Regions from separate parts of the Homo sapiens genome. Here regions 1, 2, 3, 4, 5 and 7 are each linked to region 6. The links are contacts of gene promoters, found by promoter capture Hi-C in blood cells and fetal thymus (Javierre and others, 2016). All regions are on one chromosome and are shown on one strand. Each heading gives the region's core, a stretch centred on a gene start or on the middle of the fragment in contact. The rest is flanking DNA. Distances are from core to core; before and after follow the strand shown. Region 1 overlaps RNF144A (ring finger protein 144A). Region 2 overlaps LOC105373404 (a long non-coding RNA gene). Region 3 holds the start of CMPK2 (cytidine/uridine monophosphate kinase 2). Region 4 overlaps RSAD2 (radical S-adenosyl methionine domain containing 2). Region 5 overlaps SH3YL1 (SH3 and SYLF domain containing 1). Region 6 holds the start of ADI1 (acireductone dioxygenase 1). Region 7 overlaps LOC105373404 (a long non-coding RNA gene).

The links. The method cuts DNA at HindIII sites, captures the fragments that hold promoters and counts their contacts. A CHiCAGO score of 5 or more calls a contact.
Region 1: a fragment that was not itself captured here is called in contact with the fragment with the promoter of ADI1 in region 6 in 1 of 17 cell types (M2 macrophages); the score reaches 6.1 in M2 macrophages.
Region 2: a contact is called between a fragment that was not itself captured here and the fragment with the promoter of ADI1 in region 6, in 2 of 17 cell types (M1 macrophages and M2 macrophages). The highest score is 9.1, in M1 macrophages.
Region 3: the fragment with the promoter of CMPK2 here is called in contact with the fragment with the promoter of ADI1 in region 6 in 11 of 17 cell types (M0 macrophages, M2 macrophages, activated CD4 T cells and 8 more); the score reaches 15.0 in M0 macrophages.
Region 4: a fragment that was not itself captured here is called in contact with the fragment with the promoter of ADI1 in region 6 in 3 of 17 cell types (M0 macrophages, erythroblasts and M2 macrophages); the score reaches 14.4 in M0 macrophages.
Region 5: a fragment that was not itself captured here is called in contact with the fragment with the promoter of ADI1 in region 6 in 2 of 17 cell types (fetal thymus and monocytes); the score reaches 6.3 in fetal thymus.
Region 7: a contact is called between a fragment that was not itself captured here and the fragment with the promoter of ADI1 in region 6, in 1 of 17 cell types (M2 macrophages). The highest score is 8.1, in M2 macrophages.

Annotation. Positions count from the first base shown.
Region 1 is chr2:6,997,963-7,001,761 of GRCh38, reverse strand. The region is part of intron 3 of RNF144A (ring finger protein 144A); the gene reads right to left. Among named protein-coding and RNA genes, the nearest start is that of GRASLND, 81 kb to the right of the region's middle. The HindIII fragment of the contact is 4,724 bases long and covers 1-3,799 here.
Region 2 is chr2:6,789,719-6,793,540 of GRCh38, reverse strand. LOC105373404 (a long non-coding RNA gene) reads left to right here. Exons shown (of 4, transcript XR_922745.3): 3 at 2,573-2,666. Among named protein-coding and RNA genes, the nearest start is that of LINC00487, 21 kb to the right of the region's middle. The HindIII fragment of the contact is 886 bases long and covers 1,972-2,857 here.
Region 3 is chr2:6,863,479-6,867,728 of GRCh38, reverse strand. It overlaps CMPK2 (cytidine/uridine monophosphate kinase 2), which reads left to right and starts at 1,822. Exons shown (of 5, transcript NM_207315.4): 1 at 1,822-2,707; 2 at 4,151-4,250. The coding sequence starts at 2,033. It also overlaps a transcript of RSAD2 not described here. RefSeq lists silencers at 1,562-1,831, 2,072-2,511 and an enhancer at 1,832-2,051. The HindIII fragment of the contact is 2,067 bases long and covers 1,295-3,361 here.
Region 4 is chr2:6,879,331-6,883,497 of GRCh38, reverse strand. RSAD2 (radical S-adenosyl methionine domain containing 2) reads right to left here. Exons shown (of 6, transcript NM_080657.5): 2 at 1-127. Among named protein-coding and RNA genes, the nearest start is that of RSAD2, 3.6 kb to the right of the region's middle. The HindIII fragment of the contact is 1,359 bases long and covers 571-1,929 here.
Region 5 is chr2:258,496-262,313 of GRCh38, reverse strand. The region is part of intron 1 of SH3YL1 (SH3 and SYLF domain containing 1); the gene reads left to right. Among named protein-coding and RNA genes, the nearest start is that of SH3YL1, 3.6 kb to the left of the region's middle. The HindIII fragment of the contact is 3,075 bases long and covers 423-3,497 here.
Region 6 is chr2:3,517,889-3,521,946 of GRCh38, reverse strand. ADI1 (acireductone dioxygenase 1) reads left to right here and starts at 2,416. Exons shown (of 4, transcript NM_018269.4): 1 at 2,416-2,579. The coding sequence starts at 2,460. LOC124907725 (a long non-coding RNA gene) reads right to left here and starts at 2,401. Exons shown (of 2, transcript XR_007086195.1): 1 at 1,991-2,401. RefSeq lists enhancers at 1,708-2,228, 2,229-2,750 and silencers at 2,170-2,299, 2,370-2,689, 2,770-2,829, 3,310-3,509. The HindIII fragment of the contact is 6,500 bases long and covers 1,835-4,058 here.
Region 7 is chr2:6,769,608-6,773,436 of GRCh38, reverse strand. LOC105373404 (a long non-coding RNA gene) reads left to right here. Exons shown (of 4, transcript XR_922745.3): 4 at 54-614. LINC00487 (long intergenic non-protein coding RNA 487) reads left to right here and starts at 3,126. Exons shown (of 6, transcript NR_038369.1): 1 at 3,126-3,358. RefSeq lists an enhancer at 1-270. The HindIII fragment of the contact is 1,788 bases long and covers 538-2,325 here.

The DNA.
Region 1 (3,799 bases), core at 788-3,287, 3.5 Mb before region 6:
CTAAGAGTCACTTTTATTATAGTTATGCATTGCACGGGAAAGATTCTGTCTATTAAATGTTACGTTTTTGTTTTGTTTTGTTTCTGAGACAGGGTCTTGCTCTGCTGCCCAGGCTGGAGTGCAGTGGTGTAATCATGGCTCACTGCGGCCTCGACCTCCTGGGCTCAAGCAGTCTTCCTGCTTCAGCTTCCTGAGTAGCTGGGGCCACAGGTGTCTGTCACCACGCCCAGCTAATTTTTTTATTTTTTGTAGAGACAAGGTCTCACTATGTTGCCCAGGATTGTCTCAAACTCCTGAGCTCAAACAGTCCTCCCACCTCGGCCTCCCAAAATGCTGGGATTACAGGCAGGAGACACTGTGCCTGGGCAAAAAGTTACACTTTTATTTTTTTATTTATTTTAATTTTATTTTATTTTATTTATTGAGATGGAGTTTCACTTTTGTTTGTTTATTTATTTATTGAGATGGAGTTTCACTTTTGTTGCCCAGGCTGGAGTGCAATGGCGCGATCTCAGCTCACTGCAACCTCCACCTCCCGGGTTCAAGTGATTCTCCTGCCTCAGCCTCCTGAGTAGCTGGGATTACAGGCACACGCCACCACGCCCAGATACTTTTTGTATTTTTAGTAGAGACGGGGTTTCAACATGTTGGCCAGGCTGGTCTCGAACTCCTGACCTCAGGTGATCCACCCGCCTCAGCCTCCCAAAGTGCTAGGATTACAGACATGAGCCACTGTGCCTGGCCAAATGTTACATTTTTAAGTTACAACTTTCTACGGTTATATATCAAAATCCTGTCATCTGGGTTCTAATGGCAAAATTCCTAATTGCCAATAAATAGCTGGTATAAAAATAGATTTAATTCTAACTCAAAGCAAAAAAAAATTATATATATATATATAAACGCAATATATATATAAAATATATGTGTATATGTATGTTTTATTTGGCTTATTCAATCTTGTCATCATTAAAAAATAACTTTCATTAGACTGTTTTTTTTAAGAACTAATAGAAATGTAGACATTTCTACCTTCCCAGATAACTAGGGACCTGTGTCTTGGGATGGGACCACAGCACCTCCCTTTGAGCTTCACATGTTCCCACCTTTGGGATAAGAGTATCATCTCTACTTCTAGCAGCTGTCTGAATGGAAACAACTCTGCCAGCAGTAACACCATATTAACATTCTCAGTGTAACTGTCAAATGCCACAAGTATAAGACAGACCTAAATAGCTCTAATATGTCCCATTTTAAGTTAAAACATCTTCTACATTTTAGATTTCAGCCCATAAGGAATTTCCCAGGTCACTCTACACACAGGTTGCATCTCTGATTGACAAAACGAACACGGGATTGGCCCTCATGGTGGGTAACGGCAGCCTGATTTCAAAATACGTGTCCACAATCCTTTCTCTCTGGCCAGTGCTCCAGCACAGAACTTGTTGGTTAGACTTACATGTCACTATTTTGCACACAAATGTTCAGCTTTACATTTGACCTTCTAAAGTTAGACTTCACACTAATCCAAATGGAACAATTTAAGATATCTGGTAGCTCTCATCATCCCCAAGCTCCCAAGGCCTAGCACAGCACCTGGAACATGTGCACAGGCTCTTGTGACCTCCAGAGAATCACGAAGAATCCACCAGGCACCCTGCAAGCAAGGAAAGCCCCGGAGAACCTGCTTCAGGGGAGTGCCATATTAGCAATTGCTAGGCCAGTCCCTTTCACACTGAAATACATTGAAGGAACACAGGTAAGTGACAGTATGTCTCTGGCTGTGGATGTCTTGGTACATTCCTCCTGCTCTTGGGCACCTGGGATGCCTTGGTAGTGGGGGATGTGGACAAGGATGCGGTGTCCGTCATTAGCAAACCCACTGAACCACACAAATCATTTCTGAGTCCATCTCTTGAGATAAGTGTTCTTCAGAAGACATTTAGGGAGAGCTGCCCAAACTCTGTTTTTATTCCTGCAGTTCTAAACCCAAACTTAGAAGCAAAATGAGAAAGAACTAGGCCTGATGACTGCCTACCACATGACTTCACACATGTTCTTCCACTTGAACTTTGAGGTAAACTATTTTTATCTCCATTATACAGATGGGGTAAATGAGGCCTGCTCAGGGCAGAAATAGAGCTGGCATTTCAGCTCCAGGACACCTGACTCCAAATGCCATGCTTTTCCCTCTAGCCCCGGACTCCTTGAGATAAAGTTACTTCAGCACTCAACTGTAATTTCATAATAACTGTTTTTTTAAGAGTGCCTCCTTTCAGTCTTAGACAATTTTCTTCCTTCCCATGTCTGCACCCCCCAAAAAAGGACAGTTGCAACTCCTCTGGCCACAGACTCAGGGCTCCTCCCCATGGCCTGCCCCCAGCTTGGGGCGACCTGCAGCCCACACAGAGGGGAAGGCGCCACCAAAGCGACCAGGGCACCCCGACACCTCCTCCCTTCTGAATCTTCAACACACAAGTGCTTCCTTCTCTTCACGCTACAGTGAGCTACGGACAGAGGTGGAACTGTTTTCAACATTTTAAATTTTGGTAAATAGTTGTGAAAAAAAATCACCACAGTGTCACTGTTTTTTTGGTGTTTCCAGCAGCCTCTTTCGGAGAACACAGTGCTAGCTTCTTCCTTCACATCCACTGACTTTGGTTAGGCTTTTGGTCTCAATTTGAGTGGCTTATTTGTTTTTACTACAATTCTCTAGAAATAGAAAACTAAGACAACAATAACAAAAATGAAGGCCTCAGCAAAAAAGCCAGGGAGAATGAACTATTTCAAGGGTAAGAACACAAGCTATGGCCTCTGACAGCAGGCAGGCGACTGCAGAGACTGCAAATGCCCCCCGCCCCCACCCCCCACAAGGCATTTTTGGCAGAGGGGGAGCCATTCGATCAGTTGGGAAGATGTCCTTTCAAGTAAGAGGAGGTGATTTTGCATAAGGCTAGTTATTGAATCCATCTTGACGGGTTCTACCATCCTAACTCATCTAGAAATGACAATAAGCCCCATTCACGGTGTTAACAGGATGGAGATCAATCTCCCTCCTATCCTTCTCCATCTCAGAACAATGTCAAAAGCAACTTCCTTTCCTCTAGGTTGGAGCTGTCTTCCTGGTGCTTTAATGAGGCACATTTCTTGGATGGCAACTACAGTATTGAGATCAATACACTTCATTTCAATCTGTGAGATTTTACTGATTAGCTCTTCTGGGTCCTGCACTAAACTAGGTGCTAGGTGGATACAGAATGGGCCAGAAATCCTTCTGCCCTTAAGAAAGGCTGAATCTAGCATAAACAAGAAACAGAAGACACAGATGTAAATGTTTGTAAAGCTCCCTCTCCTTATCTATAAAACAAAGATAAAATATTTGCTGTGCCTACATACCAAGGACATCATGAGGTGCAAATGAAATACAGTCTGAAAGCTATGCAAGAAAGATGAATGCATCAGTGTACAGGGTGGGAGAGACTGTTCGAGTGACAGATTATAATCCAGGCATTCGAAAAACCCACAGGGAAGCCGTCTACACCATCCACATACAACAGCAGTTAAATTCAGAAGACACTTTTTTTTTTTTGAAGACAGTTTTTCATTTTTCTTTTCTGTACTTTTTAAAATGATAAATATTGTGTTTTATTTTTCAGCTTTTTTCAGTTATAATTGATAAAGACTGTCCATTTTATACTTCAAGTGAACAATGTGAAGTTTTGATATTCATTTTTTGTATACGTGTATACATCATAAATCCATCAAGCTAATTAAATATCCATCATCTCACAGAGTTACC
Region 2 (3,822 bases), core at 1,165-3,664, 3.3 Mb before region 6:
AAGCTTGCTTAAGGTGATGCAATTAATAGGTGGGAGAGTTAGTGTTTGAAGTAGCCAACGGGCCTGTTGTTTTTAAGAGCTGTGCTATAGAATCTCTTTTTGCTTGATTTTTGTCTCTAATCTTCTTGGTCTGGTCACAAGTTGCATCTCTATCGACAAATTGAAGCAGTTATCTAGAGTTTTCTGCCCTGGATTTTTAATAATTCATGCAAAGACCTTAGTCTGTTACTGAGGATAACATACTTGCCATGTGGAAAATGAAATAGGAGTCCATTCTTTAAAAATATGTGCTCCAAAGTGCAGATCCTCAATCTTTTCTTCCTGCATTCATCTATGCAAGACTTGAGACTAGGGAGACCCTATTTAAAACACTTGTTTATAGCTCCGTATCTCTTGTATTGGTTGGCATTCCCTGGTTAAATAAAATTCCCAGATGGACTTTATTTTTTCTTTCACCATTCCTCAAGTCAGAGAGTGACAGCACAAATTGAATGTGAGGCGTGATTGGAAGGATCCTCATTTCGTGTAATTTAGAAACAGAGACAGTCTGAATGGCTCGCTGATTTAATTACAGGATGTAAAAGTGGGTGAGACATGGCACAGCACTGACGGCTGATGGAGGCCTCCACTGTATATCCTTGTTTTCATCTCCCACAATTATTCGGACAAATCTTATGGGGAAATTTTGATGTGGCAACAGTAAACAGATGCTTTTCTTTAACTGCCAGGGTAAATTACCAGGTAATTTTGCTGGAAACGTGTGTCAATACAACACGGTCTCTCTTCCTGTCTGTGTTTCCGTCTTTCCTCCTTCCTCCTCCCTGTAGCCTTTCAAGACTGTCTCTGTTAGCAGAGAAATGGAGAGAAGCAGAAACCTTCTCTTTCATAAGGTATTTTCTGAGGATGCAATTTCTCCCTTTGCAGCCAAGTGGCATTTCTGAGCAGGATGTTAATGAGCCCAGTGCAGCCCTTGGTAGGCAGCAACTGACCAGCAGAGCTGGAAGTGTGCTCTTGGCTTTCAGAGATATCTCCAGTGATGCTCGTAGCCACCAGTTTTCCAGTTTGGTGGTGAAGCTGTGACTCAGAATTGAAGCCTATGGTAATTTTATCTCATCTTTCATTTTGGCCTCGGCCCTAAAAGTTCTGAAGAATTGATTTCAGACTGTGGAAAATCAAAGAACAAAATCTCATTTTATTCTGGAAACCATAGCAGGACCATCCACACCACTGCCCTGGCTCCTGACCTCATGCAACACTCCTGGCCTACATGCTTGGCCTGGCACTGCCGGCTGGTCCTTCTCACCACACCATGCTGTGTTGGTGACCTCAGCTGAGGCATTCCCTTAGCAGTGACTCAATGTGTTTCTTCAGTTTGTGCATTTATCCAGCAAGGAGGACATAGCTCTGTGGATAACCTATGGATCAATGACTCCATGGACAATGGTGGTTATGGACTAAAGTGTCACCAATGCCACCAAATGAGAAGCACTGGGATGATGTAGCAGAAGGAGCTTCCAGGGCAGCTGTGACAAATCGCAGAGGCAGTTGTCCTCATCTCACCCTGCACTTTATTTGCAGAATCTCCAGGATAGCTGACTGGCTCACTTTGCTTCCAGTAATTGCCTTCCTTCAGCCATCAACTTAAACTTGATCATCTGACGGCTCCCTCTCCATGGGCAGCGGGTCTCCCTAGGCTGCCACCTGTGGGCCAGTGTGGGTCAAGTCCTCTCTGACTGTATCTCTTTGCTCCTGCCAAGCTGTGCTGCAGACACACCCTCTGTCCCATGATTTTGGCATCCCGGTTCTCTCTGGTCCCTTTCTAGGGCCTCCCTTCCACCCTCAGGTGCTGTCATCATAGCTGGAGAAGGCATCTGGAGCACTCTTCAGGATGCACACTCTCTTGTTTGGTGAACCCCAGTATCTTTCTCTTTCTTCAAGAAGTCGCCAGAGTCTTCCATCCTCCTGGAAGCTTGCCTTAAGCTCTCCACCCACTTTTTTTCTTCTTCAGTTTTTTTTTTCTCTTCGCTCTCTCTTTCTTTCTTTCCTTCCTTTCTTTCTTTCCTTCCTTCACCTCCCCTCTCTTTCTCTTCCCTTCCCTTCGCTTATCTCCCTTTCTTTCTTTTTTCTTTCTTTCTTTCTTGCTTGCTTTCTTGCTTTTTTTTTTTTTCTTCCTCAGAGCCTCACTGTGTTGCCCAGGGTGGAGTGCAGTGGCACAATCTCAGCTCACTGCAACATCCGCCTCCCAGGTTCAAGTGATTCTCCTGCCTCAGCCTCCTGAGTAGCCAGGACTACATGTGCCCGCCACCACAACCAGCTAACTTTTGTATTTTTAGTAGAGACGGGGTTTCACCATGTTGGCCAGGATGGTTTCTTTCTTTCTTTTTTGACAGGGTCTCTTTCTTTTTTGACAGGATCTCTCTCTGTCACCCAGGCTGGAGTGCAGTGGTGTGACCTCAAGTCACTGCAGCCTCTGCCTCCCAGGCTCAAGTGATTCTCGTGCCTCAGCCTCCCAAGTAGCTGGGACTATAGGAACGCACCACCACACCTGGCTAATTTCTATATTTTTTTGTAGAAATGGAGGTCTCATCATGTTTCCCCGGCTGGTCTTAAACTTCTAGACTCAAGCATTCCTCCTGCTTCAGCATCCCAAAGTGCTGGGATTACAGGTATGAGCCACCCTGCCCGGCTTCTCAACCCACTTAACAGTAGCAACTGCCACCATTGCCATTTGCTGTCCTCATAATAATACTGTGGCATAGGTATTATTATTCCCATTTTGTGGGTAAGAAAATAGAGGTTCAAAAAGACTATGATTTGCCTAAATTAATAATTCGGTAATAATTGAAAATAACAAGCTTTAAGTGCTTATGTGCCATATAGTGGGTTAAGTTTTTCATATAGATCGTCTCATTTAATTCTTTAAAAACCCCATGTCAAACCCCATTTGACAGATGAAGAAGTGAGTCTAAGAGAGATATAATTAATGACAGAGCGGGATTTGAACCTTATTGACTCTATTTTAACTGCCAGCCTTGCTCCATATTTCATTTTCTGAAATATTATCCCAAATAGTTCAGTAACTGGCAGTTATTATTATTGTCACTTTTAAAAAAGTGTTAAAATTTTGGGGAAAAACTCCACTTTATTCCCAGTCTGGCCCCTAAGGCTTGTTCTTTTATTTTTAATTGGCAAACAATAACCCCTCTGCTTTCTTGAAAGGAAACTAGATATTGTAGGAGGCAGCATCAGTTTGCCTGCCTTTCCCAGAGATAAGACCACTGAAATGCATACTTTGTGCAGGTGAATACAGATTAAAAGCTGACTAGATGATAGTAAAAATGGAAATAAATAAAATGACAATTTGTCTCATTTCATATTTGTCTAATTACTCCAGTTGAGATATAAATGTGTCACAAAAATATAGCTTTTACTCACTCATATTTTGCATCTTAATTTCCCAGTTCAGCTTTTTCTGCCCCTAAGTATGTAACTCTTATATACTCCAGTGCTTTAGTAATAGCCTTATCCAAGCTATTGACATGAAAATAAGGAGTAATGTATACTCAATTGTACATAATAGGGTTGTAATTCCGTGGAGAGATGCCTGAGTGCTTTCCTAATGCCATGAGAAATTCAACGTGGAATTACAGGCTTGAGTTAATGTGCAAGAGTATCGGGTTGGTTCGTGTGCAGCTAGATGAGCTGACTTTTCTGCAGGATGCTACTACCAATGCAGCCCCTCTAGAGAGCAATGCTGAAGGGGAAGTAGAGGCTACAGCGAGGCCATCCACTCTTCATGATGCATTAGGATGTCCTGTTCCT
Region 3 (4,250 bases), core at 573-3,072, 3.3 Mb before region 6:
AGAAAAGTTAGGAAGAAGCTGGTCTTCCTACTTACCCTCAAGGTGCTCAGTGGTGGGAAATAGACTGGCACGTGACTGTGGAGTGTCAAGGTCCGAGGATACAAATAGCCTTGGTGGGGGACACAGGAGAGGCTACTAACCCAGATATGTGGGGGGTTATAGGCTATATCATGTCCCCCAAAATTCATGCTCAGGCCTAGCCCCCAGTGCCTCACAGTATGACTGTATTTCAAAATAAGGCTTTCAATAGGTGATTACATTAAAATGAGAACATTATGATGGGCCCTAACCCAATCTGACTGGTGTCCTTCCCAGAAGAGGAAATTTGGAACTTCAAGGAGACGCCAAGGATGCAAGCACAAAGGAAAGGTCCCGTGAGAACACAGAGAGAAGGAGGCGGTCTGCACGCTAGAAAGAGAGGCCTCAGAAAAAGCAAACCCTGCTGGCAACTTGATCTCCAGCTTCTCTGGCCACCTGAACTTTGAGAAAACAAATTTTCTATTGTTTAGGCGGCCCAGTCCGTGGTATTTTGTTATGGCAGCCAGGATAGACTAATACATCCAGAGAGGTGGATGGCATAGGGAAAAGGTCAAGCAGGCTTGAGGATGCAGTACTGTCTTAGAGAAGAAAAGGGAGTAACTAGAAGACTCTTACTTCCATATACTACATACACGTGAAACCACCGGTACATGCTAAATGTCCAAAAGTGAAATTCCTGAGAAAGAATAAAAACTATTCTATTCTCAAAGAGCTAAAAAATTTTAAACTCCTAATTCTTCTTTCTTCTTAGCCTATTAACCCACACTCCAACCACCTATCTATATTTCACGTTTGTTAAGACTTTTTTTTTCAGAATTAAATATAATCCCAAGTTTAAGTCCAATACTATTAAGACATAAAAAAAAAACTGCTTTCAGCTCATCTAATGTTTTCAATCTTCGTCTCAATTCTATTTTTTTGAGAGAGTTTCCCTGGAGAATATTATCTTTTTGTTTGTTTTTGGTTTGCTTGACATCATTTTTAAAAGGCATCAGTTAATGAGTAAACACAGAATAAAATATCCAAATAACTGCGCAAACACTGTTACACTGTTAGGCAGTTACACTGTTAGGCAGCAACAGTGCTGATGCTGGACTGTGGCAGGCAGAGGGTGCTATCCTGACACACTTCACCTTAGTGCAGGAAACTTCAATTTGGTGGAAGAAAGGCGATTTCGAGGTGCCAATCTGGGCGACACTTCCCAGTTGGAGAGTCAGCAAAAGGGAGAGGGCAATTCCAAGAAGAGGGAAAAGCTTGTGCACAGGTGAGTGTGTGCAAAGGTGAGTGTGTGCACAGGTGAGTGAGTGCACAGGTGAGATAAGATACAGGAGAGGGAAGAGCCAGAACTGCGCCCTGTTCCCGCAGGAAAGCAGCTCTGCAGGATTAGAGGGGCGGGGACGCGTGGTCAGAGCTAGGAGTTGAGGTCGGGGAGGGAGCCCATGGTCTGCAGGGCCTGGTCAGTCATCCAAGGGCAGTAGTGCGCCTGCAAGTGGGCGTTGAAGAGCCCGTTACACCGGGAAGGGACTTCTCTGTCCCTCGCGCGTGCACCCCCGCCCCCCTCCATGCACCCGGCATAAGCCGCAGAGGAGGAACTCAAACCAGGGTCGGGGCCGCCAGCCACCCGCAGAACGCACACGGAGCTACCTTGGGGCCGACGGCGCGGGGCCTCATTCGGTGTCAGCCCCGGGAGCCGGCGCCTGGGGACCGCGCAGGCCCGCGGAGCCGCGCACCTGGGGCCCCGGGGCCAAGCGTCTGCTCCCGAGCGCCGGCCGTTTATCGCGCACATCTCGCGGCGAGGAGGAGAGGCCGGAAGGGCGCCCCAGCCCCAGGGCTCCTGCCCCGCCTGGGCCTCCGGCTTTCGTTTCCCCGCAACGCTTCGCTTTCGTTTCCCGCTGGCGCCTGGCTCCCTCCGGGTTTCGTTTCCCGCCGGCGCCTGGCTCCCGCCAGGTTTCGTTTCCGAGGCGGGGCCGAGGGCGGCGTCGCTGAGGCGCCCATGGCCTTCGCCCGCCGGCTCCTGCGCGGGCCACTGTCGGGGCCGCTGCTCGGGCGGCGCGGGGTCTGCGCTGGGGCCATGGCTCCGCCGCGCCGCTTCGTCCTGGAGCTTCCCGACTGCACCCTGGCTCACTTCGCCCTAGGCGCCGACGCCCCCGGCGACGCAGACGCCCCCGACCCCCGCCTGGCGGCGCTGCTGGGGCCCCCGGAGCGCAGCTACTCGCTGTGCGTGCCCGTGACCCCGGACGCCGGCTGCGGGGCCCGGGTCCGGGCGGCGCGGCTGCACCAGCGCCTGCTGCACCAGCTGCGCCGCGGCCCCTTCCAGCGGTGCCAGCTGCTCAGGCTGCTCTGCTACTGCCCGGGCGGCCAGGCCGGCGGCGCACAGCAAGGCTTCCTGCTGCGCGACCCCCTGGATGACCCTGACACCCGGCAAGCGCTGCTCGAGCTGCTGGGCGCCTGTCAGGAGGCACCACGCCCGCACTTGGGCGAGTTCGAGGCCGACCCGCGCGGCCAGCTGTGGCAGCGCCTCTGGGAGGTGCAAGACGGCAGGCGGCTGCAGGTGGGCTGCGCACAGGTCGTGCCCGTCCCGGAGCCCCCGCTGCACCCGGTGGTGCCAGACTTGCCCAGTTCCGTGGTCTTCCCGGACCGGGAAGCCGCCCGGGCCGTTTTGGAGGAGGTAAGAGTTCTGTCCGCTTCCAGCTCCCAGCGTGGCATCTGAACCCTTCAGACCAGAGAACTGGACCAAGAGGCTGGTCTGTAGAGCCGGTTCTTGCCTGGGTGGTTTGTTTATTTCCGTTCACAAATCAGGTAGGGAAGGTGTCCTGTATGCCAGGCAACTCTTTTAAGATTCTTGTTTGCAAGGATCTTCCAACCTGACGTGGAACATAGACCTACACCAAGCCACGCGATGCTTGCTGTAAAAGCATCCCAACAGCAGTACAGAGGGAGTAAAGGGGCTGCCGGGAGTGAGGGAAAATAATGTCAGCTGGGAAGTAATTTTATTTGCTGATGATCACCATTCAAGGATCTTGGGGTGAAAAAGAAAATGCATGAGTTTAGGGGGTTTAAGAAATTTAGACTTAAATAGTGTTTACCTACCGACTGGCCATGAACCTTGTGCAGGTTACTCAACTACTCTAAGTTTTGCCCTTTGACATGTACAATTCCCATCTTGCGATGTTGTCCTGATTAAGGAAACATCTGACTCACAGCAGGTACCCACAGAAAGAGACTGAAAATTCTTTCTGATCGCAGGCTAGGCAGATGTCCTCCTGTGACACAGATGAGCCCTGAGGATGCCCCCATGGATCTTGGGAATATTTTCCAAGCTTACGGGACAGCGTTGTGGAGCAGTTAAGAGCGCAAGGTCAACCACGTGTATTTAAATTTAAACTCTGGCATTTATTAGCTGTGTCACTTTGAGCAAGTTTCTTCAACTCTCTGCCTCAGTTTCCTTAATTCATATGGTGGGAATAATAATAGCACCCCCCCACCCCAGTTCACAGAGATTGGCAACTGAATACTTGTAAAGCACTTAGAAGATTGCCATGCTCAGAGCAAGCACATAAGTGTCTGAGCCTCGCTCTGAGATGCTGTGAGCGTGCAGTGAGATAATGCACATTGAGGAACTGGGAATTCCCAGGGGGACGCTGCTCTGCCAGCTTCATGATTGCAGTGCTTGGCTGTTTATCTCAGCCCCCTGAATGGCTAGGAGAGGACATGCTGCAGATGAAGACTGCTCTCTCCAGCCCACTGTGCAGCTGATTTCCCATTCTTGTGAGACAGTGTTCCCAGCGGGCCTGTAGTTCCATGGTTGCGGTGTCACAGGACATTGTGATGATGTGCCTTGCCTGGCCTTTCTCAAAGCTGCTCAGTGAAGGCTGCAGGCCACCAAGCGATCCAGACAGGGACAGCTGTTTCGAGCCTCGGCTGCTCAATATAAAATAAAACACTCCAGTCCATCCTAGCATCGAAATACTCTGAATTCCCATGGCCTGGCACAGTGCTCAGTATAACTTAGGCCTTATTAGCATGCGGCAATATTGTGCTCAGCAATTTAGGTGTGATTTCTGCAAAAGCCCCCTGGCTTCATTGCTGATGGATAGACGTTGTTTTACAGTGTACCTCCTTTATTCCTGAAGCCCGGGCAGTGCTTGACCTGGTCGACCAGTGCCCAAAACAGATCCAGAAAGGAAAGTTCCAGGTTGTTGCCATCGAAG
Region 4 (4,167 bases), core at 1-2,500, 3.4 Mb before region 6:
CCATTGCTCACGATGCTCACGCTGGGCAGCCGCAACTCTACTTTGCAGAACCTCACCAACTTGCCCAGGTATTCTCCCCGGTCTTGAAGAAATGGCTCTCCACCTGAAAAGTTGATCTTCTCCATACCTGTGCAAGGTGATACATGAATTTTACCACTTCACAAATATACATTATTATTTTAATAGCAAAAGTAGTATTTTCTCAATGTAAAAAAAAGAAATAAAACTTTCTCATTAATTTCCCCTCCCCTAACCCTAGTTCCCAACACCAATCCCACCCAATGGGAATAGCATATGTTTAATTCGGGATCTAAACAGGGATGCAGGGAACTGGTTACACAGATGAATAGACTTGCTCAGACACCAAAGGGTACAATGAGGCAGCACCAGGATTTGCAAAGCATAAAGCCACATGCCTGCCATGTGGCGTGACTGTCCACGGGCCAGCTGCCAGCCTGAGAATGACACTCCTCCTGACTCTGCGTTTCCCATCCCCACTCCTTGTCCTGGATTCCGCATCGCCCACCCTCTTGGGCTACTCCCTTATTTTGGAGAATCCCTTTACAAGCTTCCTGAAAAAAACGTAAAGCAGGAATTAAAGTGATGACTTGTATGCCTCAAAATGCATTGGTGATCAATTGTTTGTCCAGGTATCACATTCTAGGTGAAGTCATTTTCACTCAGTTTTAAATGCTGTTGTTCAGAGGCCTGATAACACCCTCGTTTGTACTCCTTTGTAAGTGCATGGCTTTTTCTCTCTCCAGAACCTTTCTTCCTAATGTTTTGGAATTTCAAGACCGGGTGTCCTAGGAATCTCTCTCTATTCACTGTCTGGCCACCTGGAAGGCCTCAATCTCAAATCATAGCTCTTTATGTTATAAAGAAAAATCTTCTTTTACTATTTGCTTATTCACCCCTTGTCTCAATTTTTACTTTTTCATCTTTCTGGAACTTCTATTACTGGAACATTGGAGTTTCTAAATTTAACCACTATTTTCTTATCATCATCTTCCTTCCTACGTCTATCCTGATTTTTTGGTCTCATTTTGGTTAAGACTTTAACTTTTCGTCTTTCTATTAAGATTTTAATTTTAGAAACCCCATTTTTCATTCCCCAGATGCTTCCATATTCTGACTATTCCTTTCCAGGCATTCTATTCTTGTTTCATGTATGCAATTCTTTCTCTTATCTCTCTGCAATTACTAGTTATAGATTTTTTTGGACGTTTTCTTCTTCCTACATACTCTCTGTGTATTTGTTTTGGTGTCTGCCTCTTCTTTTGATGTTTTTATTTGTTCATTCAAATTTCAGTATGGCACAAAATAGCAGAATGGAATTTCTGTGATGAAGGGAGGGGCTGGTCCAAAAGAGGGTTTCACTACAGAGAGACAGAGAGGTAAACTGGTTTATTCATAGGAAAACCTCCAATTGCTAATATCCTTGGTCTTTACTCTGGGGTCATTTTGTTTTCTCAGAGAAGAAAACATGTCTCTTGCATGTGTTACATACCTGCCTGCCTGCATTTTAGGAGGATGGGGTCTATGCGTTACACACCCACCTGCCTGCATTTTAGGAGGATGGGGTCTATGCATTACACAACCACCTGCCTGCATTTTAGGAGGATGGGGTCTATGCATTACACACCTGCCTGCCTGCGTTCTAGGAGGATGGGCTTGTGCGTTATACACCCACCTGCCTGCATTCTAGAAGGATGGATCTATGCGTTACACACTTGCCTGCCTGCATTCTAGGAAGATGGACCTTTGCAACATACACCTGCCAGTCTGCATTCTAGAAGGATGGGCCTGTGCGTCATACACCTGCCTGCCTGCATTCTAGGAGAATGAACCCGTGCAAACCTCTTTCTTGTCTCTATTAATCTGTATCTGGCCTCACCATACATCACCCAAGGTAATATGGTTAAAGCTTTCAACCCTTAAATAACCCATGGGGAAGGAATTATTATCTGGTTTTTAGTGGAAGAATTGAAGCCAAGAAAGGTTAAACACTTGCTGAAGATCATAAGGCTAGAGAAAAGTAGAGCTAGGGTACATGCCTAGACTCCAAAGCCTAGAGTCTTTATAAGTAGAGAAGCCTCCAGGCTGGTGTGCCTGGAACAGTTTTGGTTTATGGTAGATGAAACAGTATCTGTGAGTGAGTTTTAGTGCCCCCTTTCACTCTCAGATGTCTCTATGATTGGACAGTGAGGCATTATATCACCTCCCTATTTATAATCCATCATGCTGGGAGGCAGTTTGAGTGACACTCATTATAACCCGAAAACAAAACAAAACATAATTACCTAAGAAGTGTGGTGATGTGATATAGTGGCAGATAAACTGGAGAAAGTAAGACAGGGTCCTGGCCAGTGGCACAAAACTGCTAACAATTTTGAGGAGTATATTTAGAAGGGATGGAAGAATAACAAAAGGGAAGGAATAGAATTTAGAGGCATAATTAATATCTTAGACAAGGAGTAATTTATTTACAATAGTGTTAACATACATGAGTGATCATATTACAGCCCAGATCTGATGCTCATTATTTTTAATTCTATTCAGTCTTTCTGAATAGAATTTCAAAACAGTTTAAAAGCCAGGAAAGTAAATAATATATTTTAGGAGCATCTTTAGCCAGAATAGTAAATTTTAATTTTAAATATAATATATAAAAATATATATTAAAATTTAAATTTCAATGTGAATTTAAACCTTTAATTACCACTGACAGATCAAGAACACCATCATCTCAGACAAACACCACCACTTTAAGTTCCAGCTCCCTTTCTAGCCTCATGCATTTCAAGGAAATCACTTATCTTCTAACCACAAGCAGCCAGAAAGAGCAGACAGTAAAACACAGACAAGACAGCTTGAGCACAGAGGGAGGTTGAGGGGAAGTCTTTTAGGTAACTGCCAAACTTCACTGTCATACAATGGGTCCCAGTAAAACAGTGGGCCTAAATAAGCACATTAGTTTCTCTTTAGTGTTCTAAGATAGGGAAGCTAAAAGCAGATTCAGGGTGGGTATGCCTGCAGCTGCAGGAAGATGTACGGGAACAGACACACAACTCTCCCTCCCAGATAAGCACAACAAAGAGAAACAGAAGCAGTCCAAGTCTCTAATAAACCCTCCCACGCCAAATCCTTAAAACTCTTAGTCTGTAAGAGAGTGGGCTCTGACTTAACTCAGCCAGAAGCCCCTCTCAGGTTTTTTTTCTCTAAAATAAACCTGTCCTTGACTGTGGAGCCACCTTTTGTGTTTCTTTCCTCTTTCTTTAATTCTTACAACCAAAAAAATAGTTTTCCTCCATTATCTAGAAATCTCTCTTACAGGAAAATACAACCTACACTATCATGTAAGCATTTCAATTAACTTTTGTTTTACTTACTTAAACTGAGAGGTTATTATATAAAAGTATTAATTATAACTATTAATAATAATTTATCTTTTATGACAAAAATACATGAACATTCACTTGTTTGTGCCTTGTACCAACTTTTGAGATTGGTTTATCAGTTATCATTATTATCTAAAGATAATTTTAAAGATCATGGAACTGATACTCAGAAAAGCTAAATGTCTTGACAAATCTAGTAAATGTTAGAGCAGAAACTCAAACCCTGGCTTTCTGAATGAAAGTCGTAATTTCCCTCGACATATCTCCTTATTCACTCACTCATGCATTCATTCATTTATCTAAAACATTTCTTAAGCCTCTATTACTTTCTAGACATCCTGTCAGGCATGAAGACACACAGGAGGGTAAAATTCAACCTTGGAATGCAATTTCTTTGAGGAACCAGACATTAAAAAAAAAAACTGAACAAAATAGTACATTTTAAAAAGCTGCAAGACATATTTGTACCAACTGCTATAAGCTCATAAGTGAAAAGTAAAGGGCATAATTATGGCTGCAGAGGATCAAGGAGAATTCAAAGGAACTTTGAAAGTTCACCAACAAGATTTGAGGACAGACATTCTAGGAAGAGACAACAATATGACCATCATTTTAACAATTTTGATGTTTGGAGAAAATGAGTGTGACAGGCTGTGTCTACAGCAGAGGGGACCCAAGCCATCAGGGTAGCAGAGGCTGAGAGCAACATTGAGCTTGCCAGGGGCCTTGACAACGATGCTCATAAGAAGGAGAGTTAGGAGTTAAA
Region 5 (3,818 bases), core at 711-3,210, 3.3 Mb after region 6:
AAGTTTGACTAGGGAGTTAATGATCTGACCAGAGAGACAGGTTTTTATTTTGAGAACTGACAAGCTTTGTGTCCTTAAAACAAAGGAAGTAGTTAAACCAAGGCCCCAGAAAGGTAAGAATTGACTTAAGAAACAAAGGCCATAGTTGTCAAGCAGTGGAGTTCAAAATGCAGTTTTGTTAATAAAAGTAGCTTAAAGCAACATTTGAAAGCCTCTCTAAAGATTAGATACATACACTTTCTTTTGGCTAAGATTTCTTTAGTTTATTCTAAATATACCTTTAGCAGCATTCAAGTTCCTTTGATCTTAGATGGAATTTTATCAGTTTAATGAGTTAACCTCCATTTCACATAAAGTATAAGGTTTAATAATTTGATTAATATGTAATCAGTAAGAACTTGGAAAACCAAATTTAGTAAGCTTGCTTTCCTGTAAGTATTCCTTTCATAATTAGAGTCCATTGAAGAAAATAATATAAGGGAAGCAAAAGTTTGGGAATCTGAACTCTGGTAAGGAAAGTGGTGGAGAGGGGCCCTTGGGTCTTCTTGCTTTCATTCCTGACCCTCCGTGTACAACTAGATTGGAAACCGTAGTCAGCTTTGTCACCTCAGGTGGCAATTTACTCCGAGTAGGATTCTCATGTCCCTGTTTGTCCCCAGTGACTCTAGCATTGAGTTTATAGAACTGCGATCAATACCTAAAATTATTTCCAGATCTTAAGCTGATTTATGCTTTTGAGGTTTCCAAAGTAAAAATTGTCTTTCCGGTATTTTATAAGACCTTCTAATTTAAAAAAAAAATGTGTTACTATGAAAATTTAAAACATTTTAACTTTTGTTTTAAAGAAAACTTTATTTGAAAGTTTCTTAGCTTGAGGTTTGGCAGCCACTCTTTTTTTAGAAAAAACTTAAATATTTATAGAGATTTTGCCTGATTCAAGGGACTTAAGACGTTTATGAGAGTGCAGATGCTAACCATGATGTGAGGTTTAAGAGGCTTCATTAGTAATGACCTGTGTCTTCATCAGTATGATAGAATGGGACATCAGCACTCTGATCAGGTCATGCTCTATATGCCTTATGGTACAGCAGAGGAAAAATGGGTGAGCCATCATTTGATGCTGAGGATGGGATTTGAGGCTTATGTCTAAATTTTTATTTGCATATTCTTTTTGTTCTGACAGAGAAATTCACTGCATGTAACTATGACCACGCATGATTTTATCAGAAGTTGATTAGAATCTGTAACATTTTCTGTAGTTCAGCTGACACACTGAAGATGTCCTCACTGTGACCAGCCTTGTCAACAGCTGGATCACAGTGACATAAGCTGTGTCTAGGATGAGTCTTGCGGTCTGCAGCCGTGTGAGGCTGCATCTGATTCCCAAGTCCAATGGCTCTCTTCCCGTGTTTACAGATCAGGCCATGACCTTTCCCTACAGCAGGATGTTTGCAAGATTAACTCTCAACTGAGGAATTTGCTTATTTGCTCTAATACTGCTTGGTTGAGAGAGTTCAAAGTAGAAAGTCTTCTGAGGGGATAAGATTCATGTATTATTTACAGTGCTTCAGTTGCATGTATCAGAAAATCTAGTCTAAATTGCTTTAACAGAAAAAGATGTTGCTGGTCCATTTGACGAAGAAGTCCAGAGCGGCTTGTGACTTCAGTCTGGCTTTGCAGAGCCCAGGTGCTCTCTCCACCTTCTGCCAGGTTCCCCTATGAAGGCTTTGCTCTCAGACTCTCCCCTTGTGGAGACAAAAATCCCACAGCAAGTGGAAACAGAAGTGCCTTGGAAAAAGTTATTCTGGCAGCTCCTATACAAGTCCCCCATCAGATGCTGGTATTGGACCAGCTTTGGTTATAAAGCCCTGCTGTGGCACCAAAAGGAATGTCGTCCTGATACAGCAGCCTCGGGTCACCCAATCCACTCCAGATACTATGGCTGCAGCATCAATGTAAGCAGACAAGTTGTGCTGCCTCTGAAATAAAGTAGATGAAATATTCAGCAGCAGAAAGAACAAGTTTCCACTCCAGTGAACTAATTCAAATGTATCCAGCATCTAGATATATGTATAAATGTAATTAAAACATATTGAGCATCTAGAGCATCTCTCCCAAGATAATTACCACCTGATAGTAATGGCTATAAAAGCTAAAAGTGGAATCAGTCTACATGTTTCGCAATAGGAATCAATTGAAGCATACATCAAAATGCAGACAGTAGTATTGGTGAGTATTAATGTTATAGATGCTTTTTATCCTTCATATTTTCATATCTGTACTTTTTCCTGTATTTTACAATGTATTTGTACGTTGTACAAATAATTGCTGATCATGTAAAAATATAGAAATATAGAAATTTTGTTGCCATACTTGGGTCTTTTCCACTATGAAATTGAAAAAAAATTCTATAATTCCTGGTTCTTTTATAATTTGATATTTGACACTCTAAATCTTCAATGAATTTGGAGTTTATCTTTCTGTAACACAAAGCTGTGAATGAATTTTTGTTTTTCTCCCCAAATGAACATTATCTAGTATGCAATACATCATTTCAACATAGAATTGAGGTGTCATTTTTATTATATACTAAATTTGTAAATATATTTGGGTTAATTTCTGAATTTTCTTCTTTGTGAATTGATTTTTCTCCTATATTTGCATCTGCTATTATGTATTAATTATTGAGGCTTTGTAATGTGTCACAGGTTCTGTCAAGGCTGGGCTGTCATTGTTCTCCTATTACATATTTTTTCCTAGCTCTTCTTGCTTGTTTATTTTCCCATTTGAACTTCAAAATTACTGTGTTTTATTAAAAGACCCTTGTAAGATAGAAGACAGATTTGATTTCATTAAGAAAAAACAGAAAAAAAAGCAAATTCAAAAGACAAGTAACAGAGAGTCAATGTTTTTAACTCATATTCCAAAAAAATATTAATTTTTAATGTATAAATTAATAAGAAACAGAGAGAAACCCCCTGTAAATAACAAGGTGCATGAGAAACCTTTGATAGAGAGAGTGAAATGTGGTCAGCATTGCTCATCATAAAAGAACAAATGGAAAATGCACTGAGAGCTACTGGCCAGGGCAGCGAAATGGCTCCTGCTACTCACACATGGTAAACAGCTAGGAAACTGGACAGCTGTGTGTAGAGCACTTTTTGCACATGGTGGACATGTCTGAGATCCACAAGATAAGGGGAACAGGAGGTGAACTCCATTAGTGACCGTTTTCTGCCTGGAGCACTTCCTAAACTGCAGGACAAGGAGGGGGCACCCAGAGCCCAGGCTCCTGCTTAAAAGAAGAGGCAGAAATTGAGTCTGAAGAGGCTGAGGTAACTGGAATTTGCAGAGCATGTTACTAGCAATGAGGGACGGCTGAGAGAAAGAGCTCCAGAAATCTGCAGAGGGATCCCCCTGAGCCTTCTGCTGAATATTAAGTGCTAGCTGTGTAGGGTGAAATTTGCAAAGCAGGCAAGAACAACTGCCATGAAGCTTTGAGGTGAACTATTCACAGTGCTTGCATCAGGCTGGGGACAGCCATTCGAAACAGCCACAATGGAGACAGCTTATTAAACAACCAGGGCACCCAGGAGAGAGCCCAGAAGGGACACACCTTGATGGATAAAATAGTTCTAAAGGCTACTCTAGACACACAAACAGAACACAACAACAAGCCAACAAGTGATCAAGCTGATCTACAAGTAACTCACTGCCTGCTAACACAAGTGTTAACACTTTTAAGGGAAGCAATGAAATCTAGGCACTCAACATGGTAATATCTACAATCCTGTTTTACTAGAAAGGAGTAAAAACAG
Region 6 (4,058 bases), core at 1,167-3,666:
ACAAACTCTAAGCTAGCACCATGGCAGTGTTTCACACGGAGAGCCCATCTAGTTGTCTAGGGAGTGGTCAGAGAAGGCTTCTCTACGAAAGGGATAGTTAAGCTGAAATTAGAATTTTGTATAGGAGAAAAGTACTTGGAGGAAGGAAGAGCATTTTCAGTGGAAAAACTGCATGGGTGAAGGGCCCAAAGGAAGGAGGAGCATATGACTCAAATACACTGAAAGGCCAAAGTATCTGGAGGACAGAGAACAAGAAAGGAGGGCGATGGGCTGTGAGGTGGTCAGGCCGAGGCTATAGAAAGGAGGGTTGAAGCAGAAAAGGGGCTTGACTGGATTCCATGTTTTTTTGTTTGTTTGTTTTTTGAGACAGAGTCTTGCTCTGTCACCCAGGCTACAGTGCAGTGGTACAATCTCAACTCACTGCAACTTCAGACTCCCAGGCTCAAGCAATCCTCCTGTCTCAGCCTGCAGAGTAGCTGGGACTAGCGGTGCAAACCACCACGGCCAGCTAATTTTTGTACTTTTAGTAGAGACGGGGTTTCACCATGTTGCCTCGGCTGGTCAAGTGATCTACCCTCTTTGGGCTCCCGAAGTGCTGGAATTACAGGCGTGAGCCACAGTGCCTGGCATCTGGCTCCTATTTTTAAAAGGTCACTCTGGGTGCTGTGCATAGAATGGATTGCACTGGGGCAAAAATGGAAGCGGTGTGAGGAGGGGGAATTTCAGTAGTCAATTCCATCAGGCAAGAAAAGACTGCAGAAAGAGTTGGGCTGGAGAGAAGTGAATGGATTTGCGGTGTGTTTCGAAGGTCAAAGCAACATGACTTGCTGATAGATTGGATTGGATCTTGAGGGTGAGGAAAAGCAAAACTGAGAGTACACCTAGATTTTTTTATTAAGCCACTGGGCAGTCAGTGCTGCCGTTCACTGAGACGGGAAAGGTTAGGGAGAAGCATGTTTGGGGGTGTGTGTGGGGAATCAGTTGTTTTGGCCATGTTAGGTTTGACACACTGATTAGCCATGTATGTGACAACACCAACTGGATACTCAAGCCTGAGGTTCTGGAATGAGGTCCAGGTTGGAGATGTGGCTGCAGGAGCCGGCAGCACAGCATGGAAAGTCGCCTGGAGTGAGTGGATAGGAACAGGACGAGGAGAGTCTGGAACGCTCCACTAACCAGTGGTTAGAGGAGCAGGAGCTAGGAGGGGCCTGGGAAGGAGCAGCCAAGATGCCCTCATGAAGGAAAATGAGAAAATGTTTCAAGAAGGGCGTGGGCAACTGTGACGAATGTTGCTGGTAAGAACAGAAGTGCCATGATTGGATCTGGCAATATGGCAGTCATTAGCAGTTCCCCAGTGGTGAGAAGCGAAGCCTTATTGCAGTGGCTTAAGGAGAAAATGCGAGGTGCGAGATTGCCATTAGATTCTTGCATGAAGGTTTGTCATGAGTGCTGCAGAAAAATGGGCAATGGCGTCTAAGGTGTGTTCTTGAAGGATGAGTAGTAACTGGTCAAGTGAAGAGGTGGAGAGGTAGGCTCTCTAAGGAGGATGTATTTGCAAAGCCATTAGAGCAAGGGAACAGAAATGAAATAAGTGTGTATTTTTCTTGCAATATTTCTGGAAGTTCAAGAGTCAATTGCATGCATTGGGGTTGTGCTCTTACAGCAGTCTCATTTAAATCCTGTCTGCTTTATCGTTATTTGTTAAAGAGACTGAGGGAATGGCTGAGATAATCTGATCTTTTTCAACTCGTTGGTTTGAAAAGACATCTAGGATGGTCAAGCGGCTGGACTTTATTAGCTACATTGAAAAATTCAGAATGGGATAGGGGAAGCTTGTTTTTATTCTAAGACTAGCACATTACAGTGTATGGGGAAGGGAGAAACGATGAAAAGAGGAAACAAGAGGAAGTTTAAAAAGTACAGGGTAGCACTGCAGAATGCCGACACTGCAAAAGTCTGGCGAGCGGGGAGGTGGAGGACAATGTCTCACCTGGGATCCGAGCTGTGAAGTCTCAACTGTGCCCATATGGACTGCATGAGCTTAACAAAATCCTTATTCTTTTTTTTTTTTTTTTGCATTTGCTTTCCATACTCTAAACACGTTTAACGTCGTTTGCCTCACAAGATTGCTCTGAAGGTGCAGGGAGACCGCGGCAGCACACACAAGGCACGTGCGATGCCTACGGTGAGCTTCACCTGCCCGGCGCGTCTGGCGAACGGCTGGCCCCGGGCCGCGGGCCTCAGGCAGGTCCGAGGGTGCCCAGGACAGGGTCGGGGCTTGAATGCCTTTGCTTCCGAAAACAGCGGAGCCGTGGGGCCTCCCCCGCGCCGGCCCTGCCTCCAACCAGCCGCCCAATCCCGGCTCCCATGCGCGTCCACGCCTCCCTATAAGATAAAGCGCGGCCGACGGGCTCCGAGCGCGGCCCCTGGGTTCGAACACGGCACCCGCACTGCGCGTCATGGTGCAGGCCTGGTATATGGACGACGCCCCGGGCGACCCGCGGCAACCCCACCGCCCCGACCCCGGCCGCCCAGTGGGCCTGGAGCAGCTGCGGCGGCTCGGGGTGCTCTACTGGAAGGTACGCGAGCCCAAGCCTCGCAGAGCGTGCGGGCGACGCCGACCCCCAAACGCCGCGCACAGCCCAGCCTCCTCCAGGTGCCGGGCAGCGGCCTGGGAGCCGCGGCATGCTGCGCATGCTCAGCAGCGGGATTTGGGGGTTCGTGGCGGCTCCCGGTGCCTGGGGTGGGCTGCGCATGCTCAGCAGTGGGGCTGGGTGGTCAGGGCCTCCTGCGCGGCGCCTGGGTGTGCTGCGCATGCTCAGCAGCGGCGTTGAGGGGTCGGCGGTCAGCCCCCAGCGCCTGTGGTGTGCTGCGCATGCTCAGCAGCGAAGTTTACGGGGTTGGCGGTCGGCTTCCGGCGCCTGGGGTGGGCTGCGCATGCTCAGCAGCGGGGCTGGTGGGGGTCGGCGGTCCGTTTCTGTTGCCTGGGGTGTGCTGCGCATGCTCAGCAGCAGAGTTGGCGAGTCAGGGGCCTCGCAGCCGGGACTCGCTGCGCACGCGCAGCTCCGGGATTGGCAGCGACCTGAAGGGTCGGCCGGCAGGGCTGCAAGATTCGCCGGAGGCGGGCTGCGAGTTCGTGGGCTCGTTGGGCTTGTCCGACGCCCTGCCTGCCTGGCTAACCTCGGTCAAAGGCCCAGGGGTTTCTTCTATCGGAGGAAGGGGGACTCCGCTTGAAAGTGTCCTGGGGGAGGGACCGGGCGCCAGCAGATCGAGGCGGGGTCCTGCCGCGGTCTGTCGGGGATCCCCGGGGGGTAGCGCTCGGTGGTGGGGTGGGGGCGTCTCCAGTGGGCGGTGGAGCTGGCTTGGGTCCCGGCTGGGCCCGGTGTCAGCCCTGCCTCTGTAACGCTAGCTTTGCAAGGCGGGGCTAGGCTTTGCACCGGTGTCCCGTTGCTTGCACAGCACCAGTCCAGATCCGCTCACCTTGTTTATTTGCAAATGGTTTTGCAGTAACAAAGGTTTACTGCAAAAGAGAGGGCCAGGGTAGGCCTCAGGGATAGGCTGAGGGGTGACTGGATCTAATCTTCATTCATGTGATTTAAATGAAATACACAGGGTTACCTGGACACCACACTTTTTCCCTTGGGAAAGGATTATAGAATATTCCAGCATAATCTATTTGGATATCATCTTGTTCTATCCTAAATAACAGAAGAGGGAAGTGACAATTGGCATACCAGTGCGAAACAGGGCATGCATGTTAATGTTTACATAGTATTTGTCTTTTCCTAGGATAAGGTTTAACACTTACCTTGCTGGAGGGTACTTCTTCAAAGCAATCAAGTGGTTTATAGTTTTCCATTAATGAGAGGAGAATAAATTTTGACTTATTATGTTTATCCACAATCCAAACAACCAGAGGGTTCAAATTAATACACTTGGGGAGTTTCATTGTGCATTTGACGGTTTTAAGAACAAGAACAAGAGTGAGATTACAGGTCAGCTTCTTAATGTATTCAAAGAATAAAATAAGATTTATTTTAATAGACATCTTTTAGATT
Region 7 (3,829 bases), core at 182-2,681, 3.3 Mb before region 6:
GTGATATTCGGGGCAAGCGTTTGTACCAACTCATTTTCTCTGTCTTCTCCCAGGCCGCTGAGGACCGCACAGGGGAGCGGGCGGCGGCATCGCGAGGACTGACCACTGGGTGGCACTGTTGCTCCATGGAGAGCTGCCAACGGCGTCCCCGGGGACCCGGCCACGTTGAGCACAAAAGGTGGGATTTCTAAGGTGTGCTCGGTGATGAGTTTCTTAATGAATTTACCTCTTCTATGGAATCTCCCTCTGCAGCGTCTCCTGCCGCCCGGGGCCGGTTTCTGACTGTGGACTCTGGGTTGAGCCCATGGGGTCAGTGCGCGTGGAGCTTGCACTGCCCAGACCCACAGCCCCAGGAGCAGCCACCTCCCGTGTCACCCGGGCGGCGTCCTGATGACATCACTTAGAAGATTAAAAATAAATTGAAGCACATGTCACCTTAAAGGGGGCACAAAAAGGACATCTGCATGATTTGATGCATCCATGAGAAAGGGCTGCTGGCTTTTGATTTAAACTGTTGGGAAAGAGGATTTTAAAGCTTGTAAGCTGCTAGTATTTCCAAAAGAATGACTATTTTTTATTTTTTATTATTTAAATTAAAAAAGCACTTCCCTGTTCCCCTGTCCCTACACTCTAATTCTTCTTGGCTTTGATTTGGGCGATATTGTAGGCAGCTTTCTGCTCCACGGTGAAGGTCTGCCCGAGGAAGGACGGGGACAATCTTGGGGAAGATGGGGGAGGCGGGGACCGATTTTCCAGCCCAGAGCTGGGGTCTGCAGAACCAGGAGCCCGGGCCAGGCTGGCCTATCAGCCATGACCATCTGTGCACCTTAGCCACCTACTCACAGCACAGCCTCCATCTGCAGATCCACCTAGGACTCATCCATTCCTGACTGGTCTTTTGTTTCAAAACCCGGCAGCCCCGGCCCCTCCCAAGCCTGAAGTCACCACACACGCCCATCCTCCCATCAGTCACTTCCTGGCTAATGGGGACTGAGGCCCAATCATTCTCGTTTTTCATGCCTTGTCAGAGGCCTGAACACAGAGACAGAGGAAGGGAGAGAGAGAGAGAGGGCAGCTCTGGAGGAGGCGCAGAGTATGGGCAGATGTCCTCATGAAAAATTTACAAGGAATAATCAGAGGCCCCTTCTCTCCCCTCTGGCCAAAGTCCCCCTAGGCTTGTTGCCCGGGCCGCTGTGAGAATATTGGAAAAGTCCCCCTCGTTTTGAAGGCAATCTGGTTCTGGGGGGTTAATGCCCAGCGTTGATGCACTTGGCTGTCCTCTTGAGACCGGGTTGCAAATGCAGTTCAGGCAAAATTGATGAAGTATCAGTTAATCTGAGGCTGACAGTTTAGAGAGGTCACAGCTGCGAGGGGCTGCCAGGGTCTCCCAGAGACAGGACTAAGAAGAGTTAAAGCCAGGGAGGGCCCGGTGAAAGGAAGCATTCATCTTCTTCGCCTGGGCATTTCTCAAACATTGCGCCTGCCAGGATCCCTGAGCCTCTCTCCAGGTGAGCAGTGTGAGTGGGGAGGCTTTCACTCTGGTGCGCACAGTCATGCCTCCTCCCAGACAAATCCAAACCCACATGCCTGGTGTTCCTGGCTCCTTGGGAAGGAAGAAGGAGGGAGTTGCTGCTCCTAATTGAAACAGGCAGTTAGGTCTCCTATGCAAATCCCCTTGCTGTAATTGGCACTGTGAGTGCCGCCTGCTCATTCCTCCGTTTCCCGCTAGGGGAAGGTCATCTTGGTAAGAGATGTGTCCACACGGGGTGGGCTCTGAGCTGCTCAGAAGGAACTCTGCAGAAGTGGGGAACCATTGACTCACACCCTTCCCATAGGTGGTTTCCTTCAGGCTCCAGCAATTTTTTACAACAAGGTGGTACAATGAGAAAAATACCGCTCTGCTGTTAGACCACATATTTCAATCCTTGTACTTCCTAAGAGTTCTGATAGTCCAAGAGGCTGGGGGCTATGGCCATGTTTCTCACTCGAATTGCCCTGGTACTGAAATGCATCACGTGTAGGGGAGACTCAGTGTTTGTGAGCACACACTGAGTGACTATAACTGAGTGATTTCAGAGAGACAGAAGAAGGCATGCAAATGCACTTGTCTTGAGTTGTTTTCTAGGGGACATGCTCAGGGCTCTGGGACCTACCTAGTCATCTCGCTGCCTGGAGAGGCGGCTGCTTGGCCATGTTATCTCCATGCCTTCTAAATTAGGATGCGGCTTTAGGTTCACATTCATAAATAATTGGGTTTTATGGGATAGGAAGCAGCAAGGGCTTTGCGTTGATCGGCCCTGGGTTGGGTCCTGGCCTCCCTAAGCTTTGAGAATGATTTTATCATCACCATTGCCTGCTTATGGGAAAATAGGGCGGCAGTTAGTCGTGGAGTCCCTGTGACAAAGTGGCAGGTGGATGGCTGCGCCGGGGGTCTAACCTGCGCTGTCACACTCCGTTCCCTCTTCCTTTCAGTGACAAGAATGCAAGTAATAGTGCTGAGAATCGTGTGCTCAGCTGTGCTGGGCTGAGCATTTTATGTGCATGAACTCATCCCTCCCTGCGAACTTGTGAGAAAGGTATTATTATTATCATTATTAATATTATTATTACCGTATTCTCTCTGCTTACAGACAGAGAGATTGAGGTGTGGCAAGTAGGTAGTAAAATCCACCTTCTTCTTCTGTGAGGTTCCTCCTGTTCCCAGGGGTGTGGGGACGGTGAGTGGTGGATGGGTGAGGTCTTACAATGCAAAACTGCTGATTTCTACATCCGAAAAAAATCATGAATATGAACGATTATAGCCAGATTGAAACTATCATTATTTTCGGTAAGAAAAAGTGCGTCTATTCACAGAAAGTCAGGTACTTTTCCCCAAAATCACATGGGAAAAGTGTGCAAATACAGAACAGCCCTTCCAGGAAGGAACTATTTTCTCCGAAACAGGAAATTGTTGTACATTCAGACACACCATAAATACACGTCTAGTTTGTACATGGCAATTCCAGGGTCTGAGGCTCTTCCTTCCTGGCCCTAGAATGGCGTCTCTTGCGCTGTGGGCTTCCTGTTGAGGCAGGGGCTGAGGAGGTGGGAAGCAGAGGCTGAGATTTTCCTTCACCACGGTCACAGAAGATGCGCTGTTCCAGGGGCCTGGGTGGGAGCAGCCCAGGAGCCTGCGTCTCCCCTCCTCGGCCCTGGGAGGCGGCTGGACTGTGCCACACGGGACGGGTGCTGAGGGACCGCTGGGTGCCCACCTCCCTGACCCCTCCTGCAGGGGTGCCTGCCAAGCAGCCTGGGCACTGCCGTCTGGAAGATGCGCCGTGCCGGTTCTACACGGTGTTCCCTTGCTCCAGGCAGAAAGGTCAGTCCAGGCTTCTCACTCCATCGTGGCCAGAAGCCAAGTCTCATGGCATGAGATTCAACCAAAGAGAATCTCCTGGAGCTTCTTTACCTCATCAGACTTATATCCCACACAACACACACACACCCCCATCCATAAATGTGTGTATGTATATACCACACACGTACACACACATATGCCACACACATGCACACCACACACACAGAATGAATACACATACACCACACACATAAACACACACGTGTGTATGTATATATCACACACTTAAACACACGCATGCCACACACGTGCACACCACACACACAAAATGAATACACAGACACCACACACACAAACACAGAGATATCACACACATACATACACACACCATGCAACACACAAACATGCATACACATATTCCACACACAGAAACACACAGACACCACACATATACACACAGACATGCATACACACAACACACATATAAACACA